Linked DNA regions of Homo sapiens: region 1 is linked to region 2. The links are contacts of gene promoters, found by promoter capture Hi-C in human tissues and cell types (Jung and others, 2019). All regions are on one chromosome and are shown on one strand. The core of a region is centred on a gene start or on the middle of the fragment in contact, and the rest is flanking DNA. Distances in the headings are between cores, read along the strand shown. Region 1 overlaps TCP11 (t-complex 11). Region 2 holds the start of SCUBE3 (signal peptide, CUB domain and EGF like domain containing 3).

Region 1 (7,133 bases), core at 511-3,010, 97 kb before region 2:
AATAAATTTAACCAAGGAAGTGCAAGGCTTGTACACTGAAAACTATAAAAGGTTGCTGAAAGAAATTAAAGACCTAACAAAAGGAAAAGACATTCTGTGTTCATGGATGGGAAGACAAGATAGCAATACTCCCCAAATTTATATATATATATCTCCTTATCAAAAATTCCAACTTCCTGTTTTACAGAAATGGATCCTAAAATTCATATGGAAATGGAAGGGATAGCCACATAATCTTGAAAAACAACCAAGCTGGAGAACTTATACTTCCTAATTTCAAAACTTACAAAGCTTACAGTAATCAAAACAATATCTTACTGGCATAAGGATAAACATATAGATAAATGGCATAAAATAGAGTCCAGAAATAAACCCTTGCATATATGGTCAATCGATTTTTGACAACAGTCAAAGACCAAGACCATTCATCAATGGGAATAGGACAGTCTCTTCAACAAATAATGCTAGGAAAACTGGATGTCCACATACAAAAGAATAAAGCTGGATCTGTTCCTTACACCATATACAAATACTAACTCAAAATGGTAGTTTCTCAATAAATTAAGCAGGGATTACCATAGAACTCAGCAATTCTATTCCTGGATATATGGGTAGACACTCAAAAACATAGAAGACAGGTGTTCAAACAAAAACTTATGTATGAGTTTTGTAAATAACGCCAAGTGTTCACTGTGGCATTGTTTACAAAAGCCAAAATGCTCAGCTCTATATGTTGAAAGGTACACATAGCCAGAGAAGAGAAAACTAAGGGCTTGCTGGCTTCTCAGCTAGTTGAGGGCTGAAGTCATACCCATGGACTAATGAGTGGATAAGCAAAATGTGGTATATTCATGTGACAGAATATTACTTAGCTATAAAAAGAATGAACTACCAATACATGCTAGAACACAAATGAATGTTGAAAAATGAGTGAAAGAAGCCAGTCACAAAAAGCTACATATTATATGATTCCATTTATAGGAAATATTCAGAGTCAGAAAGCCCATTGAGACAGAAAGATTAGTGGTTGCCAGGGGAAGGGAATGGGGGAAAATGGGCAGTGACTGGTTACTGGAATGGGATTTCCTTTGGTGGTGATGAAAATGTTCTAGAACTAGTTAGTCGTGATGGCTGTACAACATTCTGAATGTACTCAATGTCACTAATAGCTTTCATATTACATGTATTTTCTCCACAATTTAAAATACAAATATACATTTTTTTAAAATTCCCTCAAACCAGTGGGCAGGATTGAATGGAGCTATCTTTCCTTGTTTAGGGACAAGATCCCTGTCTCCTCCATGAGAAAGCATAAGAAAATAAATTCAAATTTTCTAAGGTACTGATGAGTCCCTATTTTAATTGTGAAGTACAAAGCAAGGTTCTATTATCAGTCCAGGGTCTGCACCTGCCAACTGGACAATCTTCTTCCCAGGAATCCCTTCAGAGTACTTTTACCTCTAAAATAATGAGGTTTCCAAAACGTGGATTTTTTAAAAATTCAAATTAATAGTTACAAATCAGAGAATCCAACTGGGCAAGCCTCACTGTTTATTAAACATACCACTTTATCTGGGCTTCCCCATCCTGAAGCTGTCTAGTTATAAGACGAAAAATGCAAATGATCCAGGCCCTCCAGCTTTTCTAGTCATAGTAAAAGTCACATTGTGTTGATCTAGCTCTGTCACCTACCTAGGATCTACCCTCTAAAAAAGGAAATCAATTAGAAGGAAACACTGGGCCTAATGGAACTCAAATCCCCCTTCTGTTGTTCTTCCTAGATTAGGTGTGTTAACACTCAGCAACTTCCATCACCTAAAATGATGAGAACATTGTTTTTCTTCACCTTGCCTTGAGAACACATAATTGAATTTCCATTTTCTAAATCTGAACTGAACATTTTCTTCATTTCAGCCATACTAGGTTGGAGCTGGTCTGCTGCAGTCAGCCTGAAAATGAGTTGGTCTCTACAATCTCAGGAGACAAGCCCAAATCCTTCCTAGAACCTCTCTTATTTGTGATGCCAACAACAGCTTACAACCACAACTGCCCAGAATGGAGAAGCCAGAAGGATGGAGGCTGCTCCACCTCTGAATGCCCACATCACCTCTGCCTGGAAAAACCGGGTGTTCTAAGCTTAGAGATGAGGGAAAGGAGACTTACTGGGCTAGAGAACAGGACCAGAATAAACTTGATACAAGTGAGTCACAGACCTAACTGTCCAAGTCTGAACTCTGGATAACTTGAGAGAGAGGTCCCATGAACTCTGAACTTGTCCTCAACAGAATGCTTGCTTGTAGCCAATATCCATTTTCATCCAGCCCCGGGTATGCATATTGCTTCAGACCATGCAACAGAAGAGGAAACTAAGGCTCTTAATATCCCTTGACTTCTTGTTGCATTCTCTGAAACCTTTAGGGAAATTTGGTCCTAGAAATGAACTAACTTCCCTAAACCATGTCCTCTCCTGAGGTGAACTGGACAAAACAAAGGCTTCCAAAAGAAACCCTTATATTCACAATTTGGATAATTCCAGAGGTCTAAGAGCTCCCCAGGAGTAATGCTTTACCCTTAAAGAAAATAAGGCTAGCACCTGGGTATCTTGGCTGTTCAGCTCTATATGTTGAAAGGTACACATAGCCAGAGAGGGGAAAACTGAGGGCTTGCTGGCTTCTCAGCTAGTTGAGGGCTGAAGTCATTAGGGCTTGGCCTCAGCTGCAGCACAGGAAAAATGGAGGATTTCTTGCACTTAAGAAGTTTATTAATGAATGGGTATGGACCAGTTGGTGTTTACATGCTTGATCCCTACAGCCTTGGTGTACTGGCTGCAGGGCCTGGGATAGAAGCTCACTGTCTGCTGGTCACTGGTGATGTTACTCCAGGAAGATGATGGGCCTCCTCTTGGGTCCAAGGTACCAGGGCTCTGAGCCGACGCTATCAAACAGACTCCACTTTTGTTTCCAGTGCCTGGGCTGGGGAAATGAGGGTTTTTAGGATCTCAGTGTAGTAGGGACCAAACACCTGCTGATTGTGATGTGTCAAGTTGACAAACTTTTGGCCCAGTTCTGCCAGTTCTGCTTCAATGAGAGTAAGGCCTCCAGGAAGGTCTAATAGAGACCGCTGCACACCAAGAACCAAACAGCATTTGAGAAACAAATGGATCCGCTGATCTGTGAGCAGGAAAAGACACTGATAAGGGAAAAGGCAAACAGATTTCAGGGAGAAAATTCCCCCTGCACTCTACTCACCCATGTTCTAAGTTAACAGATATGTACCAACCTGCCCCCCTACCTAGAGATAATGAAATTTGTTTTGTTTGGAAAGGGGGCTGCTATCTTGCTCTCAAGGACAAATATAAAAAACTAGTGTGTTAGTAAATTTCAGATTATTCAAAAGATTGTTTAAGTAGCCATCAGTTAGATCCTAGTGAGTGTTTGACATAACAGGAGGAACTTAGACTGATCCTTCAGATGGCTAAGGTTAGGAGCAGGCTGGCCAAGTTCATGGCCTCCACTCCAGCATGAGGGTAGGGGATTCCCCACTATAGGAACATGTCTTCCAGCTAAATTCAGCATTAGTTTCTTGTTGGGAGATGGGGGAATGTCAGATTTCTTGGGTGCCATCAGAGAATGACCTGTAGGCCCAAGTGACTTAACCAGGTCGGCTGGACATATCCCACACCTAGAAGTCATGAATTTCTGGGTGCAAATCATCCTGAGAACCACAGTTAGTCTTTAAACTGAGACGGATATGATTTCAACCCAGCATTTTGAAAAAAATCAAGGCTAAACAATGACGTACCTAATGACCATGCTTCATGTTGTTAAAGGTTGGGGTTCCACGGTTGGGATCTATCTCTTCCCTCACCATTCTTACTACCCCACAAGCATACTCACCAATAACACTGCAGACACAGTTCTCCTTCTTGGCAATGTTCTGGAGCTGTCCCATTAGAGATGCTGTATTATCACTGCTTAGAGCAACAAGGCCCATATTCTTGAGGCTTTGATGGATTTCCTGAGATACCTGTTCACTCACAGTCAGTATAGCTTCCTCAGGCCTAGACCATGAAAGAAAGTAAGCTGGCACCCACCAGGTAACCCTGGCATAGGCCCAGGGCCCAGCATGCTGTATACCAGATGCCAGGCCCACTTGAGGGAGAATGTCAGCCACCCTCTCCACCCCTAAACCCCAGCCCCTGGCAGGCTATAGGGCCCAGTGGGTAGGTACAATGTCCTCACTGTAACCCTCAAGACACCAGCTATTCTCTATATGTGGCACTGTGTTCTACTTCTTAGCAAACAAGGTAAATGATAAAATCAACTCTGGAAAAGTATTTAGTTGTGCTCTTGGATCCACTCAGCATTCTTTAGTCCCATGGACTTTATTTTTATATATATATGTTTAAGACTTTCTTAGGCATTTTCCAGAATCATCTGTCCCACCTCATCAGTTATAACTACAACCTGGCCTTCTGATTCCTCTTTTTCCTTTGGTGTGATGGCCTGCACACAGCGGGATGTTCAATAAATATTGCTGACCGACTGACCAAGTCCTGGATATATGTGATGATACCAGCCCACAGTCACCACTCAACTAGATAATGACCCTTTTGCAGCAAACTATCTTCCACACCCTTTTTGGAAGAAAGGTTTTTTTTTGTTACACCCTCATGACCACTTATGGAAAGAAACCAACAATCTTTGTAGATGGTTCCACAGGGCCTTTCTGTGGTTTGTGGTAGACAGTAAGCAATCGTTCATTACCTGCCTATGTTCTAAATACCACATATCACCTTCTACTCTAAAAAGTAACTATGCAGCTCACCTGGAGTGAAAGTCTTCCAACAAGGATTTGGTTATGCGTTTCAGTTTATCTACAAATTGGGGTGAGCCAAACAAAACACTGCCGGAGAAACTACTGGCCACCAGCAAGACTGAGGCCATGACGGTTAACTGGTGCAACTGGGACTTCAGCTCCTGCAGCCGGGTTCTGTCCATCAGCAGGGTCTGGGAACCAGGGAAGAACAGGCTGTCAGGGGAAGTCCCGATGGAAGCCCTGAACACAAAACAAGGCAATGCCCCCAGACATTCCTACCTCAGGGAACTCTTCATTTTCAAGGTCCCAGAGAAGGAGGTTCAAGAAGCCCTGACACAGCACCATTGTGGGGCTGAGGGGCTCTGGGTTGTTGGCTGCCTCATTGGGAGAGGGGCCAGCCACACTGGAGGAGTCAGAAGTGTCTGGGCAAGTCGGAGGTGACATGGTGAGGTCTCCTGCTGCTTGGGTCAGCCATTTGGTGGTGTGATTAAGGAGACCTATGACAGGTAAGGGAGTGTGTAAGCATCTTTAGCATCTTCATCTCTGAGGCTTCAAGACCAAGGTTCTTTTCAAGTATACTCCTGGTCAATAAATAAATGCTTTGAGGGTCTTTCTGTCTTAGATAAATGTTCCTTCTCCCTCCCTTCACCTAATAAGCAACTTTCTATTCCTAAAAAGAGATAGAGTACTCTCTAACATTATAAAAGTCAGACCCAAGGTAATACCTTTCCCACTCCTGCCCTCACATTATATACATACTAGGCTGCTTATTGAGGAGTTCCTGGAATTTAGCCCGTTCATACTGAATGGAATGTTCCTGCAGGTGGGGTTGAAGGCTCTGGATAGTGTAGTTCACCATGTCCATTTTCATCCGGCCCAGAACCTGGAAGATCCCTCTGACACAGGGGGAAAGAGAATATTTATACTACTAAGCTAGAAACCCACCCAAGGAGTCATTAAATCACTGTATTTTAGAGTTAGGAGGGGCTTAAGACTAACTTAGTCTTACCTCCTACATTTTCAGAAGATAACATGTGGCCCAGAACCCAATACCCAGGGTGAGTCAGTGGCAGAATTGGGAACAGCTAAGTCTCTGGACCTTGAAGCCTTCAGTCTAGATCTCCTTCACTATGGTCATTCTGTTGCCTCTTAAAAAGGGTAGTCAGTGGAAAGAAATACACCAGCATGCTAACAATTCTCTTCAGGAAGTAGGATTATAGGTGATGCTATTTCTGACTCACTGGACCAACTGCTTTTTTTTTTTTTTTTTTAAACTTTCTGGGTCTTGGTTCCTAGAGTTGTGAAATACGGATGACCACTCATCACTGTCTCCTCATAGTGTGTGAACCGAAAGAAGAGAAAACCTGGGAAAGGGCCCGAGGGCTGGGCAAGGTCGCTCATGCCTGTAATCCCAGCACTTTGGGAGGCCGAGGTGGGTGAATCACCTGAGGTCAGGAGTTTGAGACCAGCCTGGCCAACATGGTGAAACTTTGTCTCTATTAAAAATACAAAAGTTAGCCAGGTGTGGTGGTGTGCACCTGTAGTCCCAGCTACTCGGGAGGCTGAGGCAGGAGAATCGCTTGAACCCAGGAGGCACAGGTTGCAGTGAGCTGAGATCTCACTGCTGTACCTGGGCAACAAGAGTGAAACTCCATCTCAAAAAAAAAGAAAGAAAAAAAAAAACCTGGGAAAGGGATGTTTTAACTCCTTAAAAGAAAGAAGTATGTACTGTAGTGTCTTATGGTATTACAGAGGGGGGGCCCAATCAAGCTAAGGATAACCAAAAGGCCCTGTGGGGCCATCTTTGGAAAAGAAGAGTGAATTGACCAGAGGGGAGAAAAAGGGTGTTAGTCAGGTCTTTAGCAGGGAAGAGCTGGTCAAGACGATGGCTATAATCTAGGTCTGGCCCAGCTTTTCCGGGCTCAGGGGCTAAAGCAGGTTTTTGGGGGCAGTATCAAGTTTCATACCTCAGTAGCCAAACAGGATCCGTAATGTTTTCTAGTTTCTGCACTGCTTCATCTCGAACTGGTGCACACAGCAAAGCCATCATGTTGAGAACGTACTTAGAGAGATAGAGGACTTTCAGGGCCCCATGTTCTGCCTCCTGCTTGAGCAAGTCCATGTCCAGAGCTTCTTCAATCTCAATTCTCAGGCGGTTCTGGCGTGGTAATAGCAGTGATAGCAAGATCTGCCCAGGAAAGAAAGTCAAAGGAGTTGATCTGTTTAGATCCCCAAACTTTATCCAATGGGCAATCCCTTTAGCTAAAGACATACCAGCCTATGTTTTTTAAGGATCAAGAAGTTGGGTCCCTAAA
Region 2 (6,725 bases), core at 2,632-5,131:
GGAACCTTCTCAGTAGGTATGTATGACAGACAGGAACCTGTTGGGGGTGGTGAGAATCTAGCCCAGTTGGCTGTGCTCACACCCAGTGGCATCAAAGCCTAATCTGGGACAAGGCTGCTTCTTCCCACCAGCCACTACTATACCTTTGTTATCAAACCCTTGGGCTTTTTTATTTTTATTTTTTTTTTGAGCTCTGTCGCACAGGTCAGAGCAGTGGCACAATCTCGGCTCACTGCAACCTCCAACTCCCAGGTTCAAGTGATTCTCCTGCCTCAGCCTCCCAAGTGGGTGGGATTACAGGCGTGCACCACCACACCTGGCTAATTTTTGTATTTTTAGTAGAGACAGGGTTTCACCATGTTGGTCAGGCTGGTCTCAAACTCCTGACCTCAAGTGATCTGCCCACCTTGGCCTCCCAAAGTGCTTGGATTACAGGTGTGAGCCACTGCAGCTGGCCCCAAACACTTGGGCTTTTGTTCTTCTGAGAAGTAGTGGAAAGAACAACAATAGCCTCTACCTATTAAATGCCTACATGTGCCAGTGCCAGGTGTTTTCTATATATTATCTCATTTAATTAACACCAATAACCCTACGAGGTTTTTATCCCCTATGTCAGATGAGAAAACTGAAACTCCCTGAGATTGAGTAATTTCCCTGAAGTCACAGAGGTAGAAAGCACCAGAGCTGAGATTTGAATTGCAGGTTTGTTTAGAGCCCACACAGACACTGATGGACGGACACTTTTGAGGTCATATAACCATATCTATTTTCCAGGTGAGGAAGCTGAGGCTCAGAAAAGTGAAACAACTCACCAAGAAAAATAGATGGCTGGGAAATGGTAGGGCCTAACAATGATCTCAGGGCAATCTACTTCCAGCTTGTATGTGCTCTCCATTAGACTATATGGCACTGCCCATCGAGGTAGGGTCATTGGACTCATTTTATATATAGGGAAACTGAGGAGCAGAAAGAAAAAGCAACGCTCATGGAAGGAGACTTTGCAGGGGAGGGGAAACCCCTGAGCCTGGTGGGCCCTGGCAGAAGGATCCCTAAACAGGACTGAACCAAGATCTATCAGCTAGGGGATCCCTGACCCCTGCCAGTCTTCTCCTCAGACATTTTCAGGAGCAAGTAGAATGAAACAAATGTCAGAAGCATCCCTGAAGGAAAATGAAGCCCCAAAGCAAACTGCAACCTTAGAGGTGCGTGTAGGAGGCCCAGAGCCCACTGGACATTTTGCCCCTGCTGGTTATGATATGGCACGTGCTGCTGCTGCTTTTGTAGTACCACTTGCAAGTGCCATCTTGTTGTTCCTTCCCTGTCATCTTCCTGAGTTACTGTCCAACTGAGTCCCTGCAGAAGAGGACAGGGCAAAAGGCAATATGAATTGGACCAGCACCTCAATTCACAGTGTCCTGGTGATATAAGCCCTGCTTCTACTCCTGTAGAATAGTCTGAAGGGCTGAGGGTACTCTGGAATCAGATTGGGTGAGTGGCAGCAGGAGAGAAGAGCAGGGAACTGCCTCTTTTTGCCCAGATGTGGAGGAGTAGCTCATCTGGTCCAAGAGGAAAAGAGGAAATCATCAGAGGAAAACTGGTAGGATGAGATAAAAGGCAACTACGGGGCATAAAAATCAATCTTCCAGAGACATAGTGGCTTAGGTGGAAGAACCCACCAAACCTCCCTCCCTGAAAGCCAGGGCAATATCCGTACTCAGAGGGCCGGGAAATCACCCTGAACTGAAGGCCCCAAATAACCCATAATCCCCCTATAGAATCCTCCTTGCCCACCTCAAGGAGGATGTAGGGGCCCTCCCTCCAACCCCCCAGGGACCCGGAGGAGCTACACTAGTGTCCAAAGAAGGCAGAGGCAGAGCAAAGCAAGGCAGCGTGCCATCTCCCCTCCCAGCCGTGGGGGAGCTCCTCGGCTCTCTCTCTCTGTGCCCCCATGGAGATCACAGACACCGTCCGGCAACCTCCACTTCTTTCTCCTTTTTTGAAACCATTCTCTTGTTGGGGGCAAAAAAGATGGCAAATTTACACTTGTCCTCCAACCCTACACATAATTGGTGGCAGCAGGCAAAACCGCTGCAAGGGGAGGGTTTTGCCAGTGGAATGAAGGAGGGAGGGCATCTTAGAGTGACAAGGATGGGAGGGACCTCAATCATCTGACCCAGCCTTGCTGTGGCCTCCACACCATTCCCATGATCTATGTGCTCCCATCCCAAAGGTCATCTTTGATGCTATGCAAGGTTCTCCAGGACTCCTCCCCCAGGCTTCCTTGGGGCACTGCCCCCTTTCCACCACTGAGTGAATCCACTACCCTCTTGTTTTCTGAGGAAACTGAGGCCCATTGACATATGACTTGTTCAAAAGTAATCTTCATCCCAGGATAAGAAGTTTGAGTCTGTTTCCATCCTACTTTTCCACTGAATCCCTAGGAAAGGAAGGGCTCAGCTCTTCTCCCTGGTGGACAGCACCATTGCCAACAAAGTCCTCCCCTTGCCCCAGCTGATGTGGGCAGCCAATATGGAAGGTCTCAGAACTGAATCACCTTTGAGGAGATCTTGGTCATTGCCTCTTCCTCCTGGGTACGCTGAGGGCTCTGTGAGGCTAGTCTGGGTCCTAGCAGCATCTTCCCTGTAGAAAACTGGACCTGGCCTGGTCTCATTCTGAACACAGCCTCACACTCCAAGAAAGTCTTCATAGCCTTTCAAGAGGTCTTTCCTCTTTCCCTTACAATGGAAGGAAAGAAGATACAGAGTGGGTGAACAGTCAAGAGGCAGCATCCATGGTTGGAAGACCCTGCTCCTTCTGCGGTTTGCCCCTGTTTTAAAAATATCCTTTCTCTTTCCTCTGCTTCCCCTCAGTTGGAAGGATGAAGGGTTCAGAATGGACCAGTCAGGACCACCTCTTGAAGCGGGGTGCAGGTTTGGAGGAGCCTCTTGTACCTGTCTCTATGTCTCTGTGTTTATACACATAGACATGATTCTGTGGGGTAGCTTTCGCCCCTGTGCTGACCACATGAGAGTGTCTGTATGTGAGTCCATGTCTCTGCGGGTAGGGTGGTTCATTAGGCTTACCTCCAAGGCCTTAACTGCAAGGGAGTCTGCCCTGGAGCTGGCAGTTTTAGCAGGCGGAGGCTACTTTCTTTTTGGTCCTCAAAGTGGACTCGCATCTAGGAATGGGGACTGAGTCTTGAGGTTGGGGGTGTGGTAGGTGTAAAAGTTGAGAGGTTGTTACTCGGCCTGGTGTCGGAGGCGGTGTGTTCCGAGGTCCTATGTCCCCTGTCAGGCTGTGTCGGTGGACACGCCCGAGTGCCCGTGTGTCCGTGTGTCCACGTCTGCCCCAGCCTCCCCAACACCTCGCACCCTCTTTGTCTCGGGTGGAGGTGTGCGTTCAAACCTGGCGCCGCACGGCCGTCCTCGCGAGCGAGCGCGGGGACGCACCCTCGCTCCCCGACTCTTTCCTAGGGGAGCGAGGACGAGTCGGAGCCCGGTGCTGTTTGGTCTGGAGCCGAGCGGAGCTTGCATTGATCCATTGATTGCGCGCGGTCTGCGCCTGACCTCCCTGCTCCCGGGGAAGCCGTCTCCATGGAGACCAGGCCCGCTCCCCCATCGCCGGATTGTAAATTCCTGCAGGCAGCGGCCCGGCAGCCTGGGGAGGGGGCCACCGCGCCCGGGCGCGCAGGGGGAGCGGCCACCGCGCCGAGGCCCCATTTGAAAGAAAAAAGGGCACGAAAAAGGAGGTGGTGGAGAAGGAGGAGGAGGAGGAGGAGGAGGAGGGGGAGGAGGAAGAAAACGAAAAGGAGCGAGGAGAGGAGGAGAAAGAGGAGGAGGAGGAGAAAGGCGAAGAAAAAGAGCCTGAGAGACGGAGAAAGAGCGAGAGAGGAAGAAAGAGAGGCAGAAAGGGCGTGTTTCTGGCGCTGCGTTTCCCCTCCCCTTTCTCAGGTCCTTCGCTCGGGCTCTGCGCGCTCTCCGGCTGCAGCTCTCTCCCGGCGAAGCTGGGAATTGGGTGGGATTACACGGAGCAGCCCCGCCGCCGCCGCTGGCAGAGGCCGGCTTGGAGAGGGCGGGGGTTCCCCTCCGTCAGTCGCCCCTGGCGCCCCTCGCCTCGTCGCACTCTCCGCCTCGCTCTCCCCGACGTCCGGCCAGGAGGAGCCGGTAGCATCGGGAGCCTCGCGCCGAGGGCGCCGCGGTCCGCGCCCCGCGACTGCAGCCCCCGGCCTGGCCCCGGCGGGGCGCCCCCTCCCCTCCCCCTCCTGCGAGCTGGGATCCGGCCGGCTTCCGCCCTCCCCTGGCCGCGAGACCGGCCCCGGCGGCTGGGCCGCCAGTAGCTCCAGCCATGGGCTCGGGGCGCGTACCCGGGCTCTGCCTGCTTGTCCTGCTGGTCCACGCCCGCGCCGCCCAGTACAGCAAAGCCGCGCAAGGTAAGGAAGGAGGGGCGCGCGGCCTGGGGGCTGTCCTGGCTGCTGGGCCTCAGGGCCTAGGAGCGATTCCCGAGGGGCAGGGCAGGTGCTGGGGAGCGTGCTGCTGTCAGAACCCGGCTCTGTGCACCCGGACTCCCCGGCCAGGGGCCCGACCGCTGGGCGCTGCGCCCCGAGCGAAAAGCCGGACAAGCTGGGGGCGGCAGAGAGGAGTGAGAAACTCTTGGGGGCGGTGGGCAGAAGAGACCACGCGCCTCAGAATTCCGCTCGACTTCATCCACTCCCAGCATCTTCGAAAGACTTCTTGTCTTCCAAAATCTGAGAGAGAATTTTCTCTTCTCTCAAACATTGCCAGAAACTTACGCTGTGGCCTGGAGAGACTGAGGGAATAATGAAAACTTTTCAGCCGTGCCGTATATTTCTTTCCCTTACCCCCAACCCGCATGCAAAGTTAGACATTTCTAAGTTGATGCCTTATCAGTGGAAAAATGTTGAAGAAAAATAGGATCTTTTATGGAAAAATCAACTCATCTCTCACCGGATGGTAGGGGGCTGAAGAAGAGAAGAAAATTTCTGTGACTGGCTCCCGACAGGAATGTTGCGTTTCTGCCTCTTTGGGGTGAAATCTCTTTCGTCTTGCATGGCTTTCATTTCTTATCATAATATTTATTTATTAAGGCCTCGGGTTTCCAATTCCATTTAAATCCAGGTCAGAATTGCATTAAAATAACAAAGTAGAATTCCAGGCCGGGGAGCTCTGACAGATCCCTCTAGGAATTAAAGAGAGACAGGGAGGCCTCCCGCCCCCGTCCCTGACCCCCAGCTCATCGCCTGGCAGGTCCCAAGGCTGTGCAGGCAGAGACTAGGCTGATGTACTACAGTTCTCTCGGGACAGTTTCTCCTCCCCCTTGACCTCTTGCTGTACCCCTCCCCCATCGTGTCCTCACCGACAAGAGATTTATATGGACAAAAAGAAAATTCCTCCTGGCAAGGTTTTGCCCAGGAGAGTATGATTCTGCCTATTGTCCCAGGGGCTCCTGAAGCCAGCTGGGTGAGGAGATGGCTGGGCCAGAAGGAAAGTTGAACTTGGGAGTTGGGGAAGCCTGAGTGTCCGACACAGGTCGCTGTGTCCCAGAGCCTGAGCGTTTGGCTCTTAAGCTGCTCTGTTGTATTGGATGGGCTCCTGCTCTGTGAAGAGGAAGGTGCTGTATCAATGCCGCCCTCCTCTCCCCAAACACTGCCTCTTCAGCTAACCTCTTCCCCCTCCAACCTGTCCTTTCACAGAACTGAAACACTAGAGATCCTCAGCTGTCAAATACTGGACCCTGCCCCCACACCTTCCAGCCCCACACTGCCTCTTTTCCAGTCCTGGTTCCAGACAGCGCATCGCCACTGCCACCCCCAACCTGGGAGCAGCCCCTCTCCTCACTGTGGATTTGTGTTTTCATAAACAAAGCTGGCTTTTGTAGTGTGTGCTGACTTACTCATAACATGGAATTAGGTGGGGAGTTTAGTCTGAAGGAAGGAACAGATATCATGAAGTAACCTAGAGACAAGATAAGGGCCTCTTTCAAGTTGGAGCCAGTGTCTGTAGTGGCCTAGTGAGGCTGTGGACCAAAGGAGAAGCAGTGTATTCGAGGGGGGCCCAGGGGCAGATGGAGACCCCTCCAAGGGACAGGTGCCATCAAGCCAAGGCACTCAAGTATGGGAGATCAGCTCATGATTCAGGAACGGGAGTCAGAATCCCTGCATGGTACTCCAGGGCTTCCACTTTCATTGGACTCCCTGCTGGGTACTGAGGAACATGCTGCCAGAGTGAAGGCCCCTGCCCTCAAGGAACTTAGAGTAGTTTTTGTCCCCAGCTTATCTCATTCACAGGCCACCCTTCCTGTGACTGGACCGCAGTTAGCTTGGTATCCTCCTTCTTTTCTTCTGATCCCTAAGCTTGGCCTAGAATGGAAGCCTTTCATTGACCCTTCTCTTCAGGAAATCTACAAACCCCATCTGCCAGAGGTTGCCTAATAGCAGGTTTGCTGGGTTACAGGGATGTCTCTGGACACAAACTTGCAGGCAGATGCTGCAGGAAGAACTAGTACTGACCAGGCGGGGCAACCTTACAGCCTTACCCATAGACACAGTCTGTGAGCATCAGGGAGGCCTTACCTTCAAACATATCTCCTGGTTATCAGCAGTGCCAGAAAGTGTGCCTTTAATGCCACATGCTTTATATAAAGCACTAGCAGGTCTTTAAAATCAAATACCCTTGGCAAGTATCTTGCACGGAGTTACTATACCTCTG

The links. Contacts are between HindIII fragments. The study calls those that stand out against the background at their distance.
Region 1: a contact is called between a fragment that was not itself captured here and the fragment with the promoter of SCUBE3 in region 2, in 6 of the 25 tissues and cell types used here (IMR-90 fibroblasts, bladder, dorsolateral prefrontal cortex and 3 more).

Annotation. Positions count from the first base shown.
Region 1 is chr6:35,115,332-35,122,464 of GRCh38, forward strand. TCP11 (t-complex 11) reads right to left here. Exons shown (of 10, transcript NM_001370687.1): 5 at 6,786-7,006; 6 at 5,578-5,714; 7 at 5,098-5,315; 8 at 4,828-5,009; 9 at 3,897-4,060; 10 at 2,744-3,170. The coding sequence ends at 2,938. Among named protein-coding and RNA genes, the nearest start is that of TCP11, 22 kb to the right of the region's middle. The HindIII fragment of the contact is 6,471 bases long and covers 1-4,996 here.
Region 2 is chr6:35,210,075-35,216,799 of GRCh38, forward strand. It overlaps SCUBE3 (signal peptide, CUB domain and EGF like domain containing 3), which reads left to right and starts at 3,882. Exons shown (of 22, transcript NM_152753.4): 1 at 3,882-4,429. The coding sequence starts at 4,345. It overlaps LOC112267955 (a long non-coding RNA gene), which reads right to left and starts at 3,606. Exons shown (of 3, transcript XR_002956343.1): 1 at 2,555-3,606. RefSeq lists a silencer at 3,906-4,015. The HindIII fragment of the contact is 11,734 bases long and covers 1-6,725 here.